Regions from separate parts of the Homo sapiens genome. Here region 2 is linked to region 1. The links are contacts of gene promoters, found by promoter capture Hi-C in blood cells and fetal thymus (Javierre and others, 2016). All regions are on one chromosome and are shown on one strand. The core of a region is centred on a gene start or on the middle of the fragment in contact, and the rest is flanking DNA. Distances in the headings are between cores, read along the strand shown.

Evidence for each region. Contacts are between HindIII fragments. The CHiCAGO score rates a contact against its expected background, and 5 or more counts as called.
Region 2: a contact is called between a fragment that was not itself captured here and the fragment with the promoter of TSPEAR-AS1 in region 1, in 11 of 17 cell types (total CD8 T cells, naive CD4 T cells, naive CD8 T cells and 8 more). The highest score is 23.4, in total CD8 T cells.

The regions. Positions count from the first base shown.
Region 1 is chr21:44,504,407-44,507,424 of GRCh38, reverse strand. It overlaps TSPEAR-AS1 (TSPEAR antisense RNA 1), which reads right to left and starts at 1,381. Exons shown (of 7, transcript NR_103707.1): 1 at 1,097-1,381; 2 at 326-778. It overlaps TSPEAR (thrombospondin type laminin G domain and EAR repeats), which reads left to right. Exons shown (of 12, transcript NM_144991.3): 11 at 2,544-2,645. The HindIII fragment of the contact is 6,455 bases long and covers 1-3,018 here.
Region 2 is chr21:44,749,976-44,752,993 of GRCh38, reverse strand. No RefSeq gene overlaps it. Among named protein-coding and RNA genes, the nearest start is that of TSPEAR, 40 kb to the right of the region's middle. The HindIII fragment of the contact is 6,978 bases long and covers 1-3,018 here.

The sequences.
Region 1 (3,018 bases), core at 132-2,631:
CGTGATGTGGCCTCACCAAGTCCAAAACCCTATTCAAGGGCGCTGAGGGGTTTTGTGGCTTCTGTGTGTAACCTTGGCTCTGACTGCCTTCAAATGGTCGCTTGTGTTTGCTTTTTAGATTCAGTAGTTCTATTAAATCCACAGATATGTGCAGCCATGGCTGCAGACAACTCTGGAACATTCTCATCCCCTCACAAGGAGCCCCCCACACCCTTTTCCAGCCCCTCCCTCCCAACTGGGCACCCCCGGGCCCACTTCCTGTCTCTGTGATTTCCCGTTCTGGACACTGCACAGAAATGGACTCGTAGAGCCGTGGCCTCTGTACCTGGCTTTTTCTCGCAGCACCGTGTCCTCCGGGTTGGTGGTGTGGCCGCGCGGCTCAGAGCATCCCCCTTCTCATGGCTGAGTCACACTTCATCCGTCCATTTGTCCGATGATGGGCATTTGCCAGAGGGCGTGATTCTGAAGAATAACATCTGTCCTACAGCGAGTGTGACCCAGGGCTGCTTTGGAGGCAGAATCGGGCACTAGATGCCTTATTTTGTGGTGAAACCGAAGCCGGCTTCTGATGTGAGCCTCGGTGCAGCCGGACAGGATCTTCCACCACTGGTACATCCGACGTGGCCGCTTGTCTTCCTCGGGTCTGGGTTTCAGAGCTCAGATCCGACTGAGGAGTAACCCCGCGGATTCACACTGACCCGGGGCCCGCGGCCGTGCCTCCAGACCAGAGCATGTGATCACAGGCGTCCTCGTCCTCCTCCCAGCGAGCTGGCACGGGCTGCATGGGAACCAAATCATAACCCACCATTAATGGAGGTGGCTCCAGATGTCACCCTGACTGACCGAAGGAGTGAGGAGCCCAAGGCCCCATGGGCTCTGCCCGCCCTGCCTGTCACTGGACACCTCTGTGATCCCTCCCTCTCCCAAGGCCCTGTCTGAGCCCCTGCTGCAGGCCGGCCCCACAACTGCCTGCAGGGAAGCACCGGGATGAGGCCCCTCTGCTGCCTGAACTGGCCACAGCCCTGAGGCTGCTGAATACAGAGGCACCCGCCTGGCCTGCATGTCAGCAGGACGCCTGCGTGTGCATGGCTTCGACCTCCATTTCCTCATCTTGAGATGTGGGGCTGACGCTGACAGCTCGGCAGGTGGGCTCCTGGGGAGGAAAGGATCCAGGGGAGCCGCTCCTCAGACCCCTCAAACCGAGCCATCCCCAAGCACAGATGCATCCTTGGTAAATTCAGGTGAGACTCCTAAGACAGGACACAGCAAATTTGTTTGCAACAAGAAACAGCTTCTGCTTCTAGGAGAACATCTGTGAACGAGCAGGTCCTGCAGGTCCTGTAGGCACCTCCTGGAGTGACCTCACGGCCGCTGACCTCACAGCTGAAGACACAATGCTGAGAGAAGAAACCAGGCACAGAGGCCACAGCACTGTGACGCCATTTCTGCACAGTGTCCAGAGCGGGAAACCAAGCTCCTGCCTCCAGCAGGCACCAGCAGCCTGAGACTTTTTCTCTGATTGTTTCAACCTCTTAAAAGTGGACTTTTGTACCCCGGTGTTCATAGCAGCAGCATTCACAGTAGCCACATGGAGGAAATTCCCCAAGTGTCTGTCAGCGGATGGACAAACACAACGTGTCCATTCACACAGCGGAGCGTTACTCGGCCTTAGAAAGGAAGGCGATTCTGACACACAGTGCGACACGGATGAACCTTGAGTCACTGGAGTCTCAGCTAAGGCAGACACAAAGGACAAATACCGTGCGATTCCATTCATATGAGGTCCCTAGAGTGGTCAAATTCATAGAGACAGAAAGTGGCGTGGTGGGTGCCGGGGCTGGGGGGGGGGGGGGGGGGAGGGGGGAGGGGGTGATGTTTACTGGGTGCAGAGCTTCGGTTTTGCAGGATGAAGGCGTTCTGGAGGTGGATGGTGGGGGCGGCCACACAGCAGTATGAATGTGCTTAATGCCCCTGATCTGTGCACCTAAAGATGGTTGAGGTGGGAAATGTTATGTTATATGTATTTTACCATAATTTAAAATTTGAGGCCAGGCATGGTGGCTCATGCCTGTAATCCCAGCACTTTGGGAGGCTGAGGTGGGCAGATCACTTGAGGTCAGGAGTTCAAGACCAGCCTGGACAACATGGTGAAACCCTGTCTGTACTACAAATACAAAAATTAGCCGGGCGTGGTGCCGCACACTTGTAATCCCAGCTACTCGGGAGGCTGAGGCAGGAGAATCGCTTGAATCCGAGAGGCAGAGGTTGCCGTGAGCCGAGATCTCGCCACTGCACTCCAGCCTGGGTGACAGAATGAGACTCCATCTCAAAAATAAAATAAAATAAAATTTGAAATTTTTTTTAAGCAAACAACTAATTTACATTTTCCTGGAATAGACCAACACATATGTGACTGTGAGAAAATCACTCCCCACTTTGGCCCCGGCTCCTCCTCTATAAATTTTGGAGGTAGCTTCTGGCCAATCCCCCAGTTCCCTGGCGATGTCTGTTGTGTCCTAATATCCACCCACTTGTTCCTGCAGTGCTCTGGACTGGGAGTTTTTCTCGGTGGGAGAAGATTATTTCCTGGTGGTGGCCAACTCCTTCGATGGGCGTACCTTCTCGGTGAACAGTATTATTTACAGGTAATGAGCTGCCGAGGCCGGCCTCCTCCCAGAGCCTTGCTTCCCCACTGTGGGCTCACCGAGGCCGGCCTCCTCCAAGAGACTTGCTTCCCCACTGTGGGCTCACCGAGGCCGGCCTCCTCCAAGAGACTTGCTTCCCCACTGTGGGCTCACCGAGGCCGGCCTCCTCCAAGAGACTTGCTTCCCCACTGTGGGCTCACCGAGGCCGGCCTCCTCCAAGAGACTTGCTTCCCCACTGTGGGCTCACCGAGGCCGGCCTCCTCCCAGAGCCTTGCTTCCCCACTGTGGGCTCACCGAGGCCGGCCTCCTCCAAGAGCCTTGCTTCCCCACTGTGGGCTCACTGAGGCCAGCTTCCTCCCAGAGCCTTGCTTCC
Region 2 (3,018 bases), core at 299-2,798, 250 kb before region 1:
CATACACGTGCACACACAGCACACATGCACACAAGCATGCGTGCACACGCACTCACACATGCACGTGCACTCATGCTCACACGCATTCATGGACACACATGTACTCTCGCATGCACACATAGCTTGTCGGCCCCGGGCAGTGAGGCCATGTGCAGTGGCAGAGGCTCAGCACATGAAGCAGCACTGAGCATTTCCTGGCTCCTGTTGCCAAAAATCACATCTTTATGCAGTAATCTGCCAACAAATTGTTAAATGTTAGAAGTTTACAAGTTCCCTTTTCCTTCCCCCCTCTTTCCCTTTGTCCCTCCCTCCCTTCCTTCCTCTCTCCCTCCCACTCTCCTTCCTTCCTGTTTCTCCCTCTCTCCCTCTCTTTCTCTCTACACTTATTTACTACCCATCAGGTGGCCGGCATTGTGCTTGGTGCTAGGATAACAGTGGAGAAAACGCTCGGCAGCTGTGGGCCTCGTGGATTTGGGGAGATGGACGATACACAAGTGAAAATGGATGAAGGGAGCATCCAGCGCTCCAGGCGGTGAGGAGCGGCCCAGGGCGCACCCCATGAACCCACACAGCCCCGGGCGGGGGGGAGGGGGCTTCCCATCTGCAGTAGCTGTAAAGGGTCGTTCTGGGAGCATCACAGGCAAAGGCCGGGCTGAGCAGAGGGTGAGGGGTCCAGGAGCCAGTGGGCCGGGGCCTCCTGCAGAGGCCTCCTGGGCAGAGCTGGTGGGGAGAAGTCTGGTGCCGTGGGCTCCGTCGGGCAGCCTGGGGGTTTGGAGCTTACCCTCCTGCGAGGAGAGACTGGAGGAGGTTGAGGAGCCGCACGCTGGGACTCGGGTCTTCAAGGGGTCCCTCTTGCTGGTGAGTCGGGTTGAGGGAGGAGGAGGCTGGGAGGCTGGGAGGCTGGAGGCTTAAGTGGGGGCGGGGGCGCCAGGGGGCACTATGGAGAGGGAGACAGCAGGTGCACTCAAGATGGATTCGGAGTGGAGTCCACAGGATGGGCCGATTGATCCGAGATGGATGCAAAGTGGAGTCCACAGGTTGTGCTGATTAATCTGAGTTGGATTCGGAGTGGAATCCACAGGATGGGCCAATGGCTTGGAGGGGGCGGAGGGAGAAAGGGAGGACGAGGGCTTGCCAGTGGGACACCGGGCAGGGGGCGGCTGGAGCCATGGGGAGGACCGAGGGGCCGGGAGCAGGTTTGGAGCAATGGATGTGGGGCCTGTTTTGGATGTGGGGCCTGTGAGATGCTACGGCGACACGTTTGTGTATTCGGCCACAGCACCCATTCTCCCTGATTTGGGTGGCGCCCCCTCCCCCATTTCCTTTAGGGAATCACCTCTTTCCATAGCAGTCGCACGGGACATGGGGAGCGTGTGGCCATTTCCTCAGCCACCGGGGTCCCACCTCCTGGCCTGTGAGCTGAGGGTCCCAGGGACAGAGCACACCCAGAAGCCTGTGCTCCTCCCGGGAGGCCCTGTGGCTGTGAAGAGGCTGTGCCCCCAAGACGCCATTTTGCAGAGCCCAGCCGGATGTTTTAGCGACACTGTGACCCCGGAGCTGGTGGAGAGGCACTTCATCCCCCAAGGGCGGGTTTCATTCTCAGCAGCACAGGGACCCTGGCGCTGGGCCTCTGAAGGTTCACCCTGCGGGGTGCAGGAACAGACATGGGATCTCCAGCGGCTGCAGGGAAGAGGTGCAAGCCCCAGCCAGCAGAGCCTCTGGAAGGGGTTAGGTCGCTGCGGGCGAGGGCCTGGGCATAAATGCGGCATTCTCGGTTTCGATGCTCCCCTGTAACTGGCATCTGAAGTTTCTGGTGAATTCCAAGGGAGGCCTCCTGCCAGGCTTTGCTCCCTTGGGGAATGTTCTCTGTAAGAGCCGAGGCCATCACGGTCTCTGCCTGCCTCTGACAATTGTCACACTCACTGACCTGTGCCTTGTGAGCTTGGTTCAATTATCTAACACACACCTGGTATTTAATTCTACCTTTTACAAAACACCCAGCCACGGTGGATCAAGGAATCAAATTTGCTTTTAAAAAATACCAGTATTATTGGAACAAGAAACCAGCTAGAGATGTGTGTGCGGCCGTATAAGCAACAGTGTCTGAGCGACTCTTATCACCTGGGCGGATGGAGTGCAGCCTTTGGAGGAAGCGTGGCTTTAGGGCACAGCACGTTCACAGGGAGGAAGCGGGAATGACAGCACATTCACAGGGAGGAAGCGGGGATGGAGAGGCAGGGGGCCAGTGTGGAGGGGTCGGAATGACAGCACGTTCACAGGGAGGAAGCGGGGATGGAGAGGCAGGGGGCCAGTGTGGAGGGGTCGGTATGACAGCACGTTCACAGGGAGGAAGCGGGAATGGAGAGGCAGGGGGCCAGCGTGGAGGGGTCCGGTGGTGTTGACCTCTGCCAACACACAGGGGTGCGGGGACACAGCCAGGCTGCTGCAGGGCCTCATGGGGTTGCAGGGAGCCCCACATCCATAGCAAGCAGGCCGTCCGCCCCGGCATGCACACGGCACACAAGGCAGGGACATTTGTTGGTTGGTTGGCTCAGCATGCACGGGCATCGCTCAGCCTGCCGGAGCAGGGAGTAGCCGGGATTTGGCCAAGGGCTTCCGAGCCCTGGGCAGAGGCTGGGCTGTGTACCCCATCCCTAGACACCACCACTGAGGACACAGCGCCCGGCCTGAGGATGGTTTCATTCCTGGGGCAGGAGGACTCTGGGTGACTGGCGCGGCGGGGTGCTGGCACCGGTGCGGGGAGGCCAGCTTCGTGGGGTGGGTGACTGGCGTTGCGGGGTGCCAGCCCGGTGCAGGGAGGCCAGCCGCGTGGGGTGGGTGACTGGCGTTGTGGGATGCCGGCCCGGTGCGGGGATGCCAGCTGCGTGGGGTGGGTGACTGGCGTTGCAGGGTGCCAGCCCGGTGCGGGGAGACCAGCCGCGTGGGGTGGGTGACTGGCGCTGTGGGGTGCCGGCCCGGTGTAGAGAGGCCAGCCAAGTGGGGTGGGTGACTGGCACT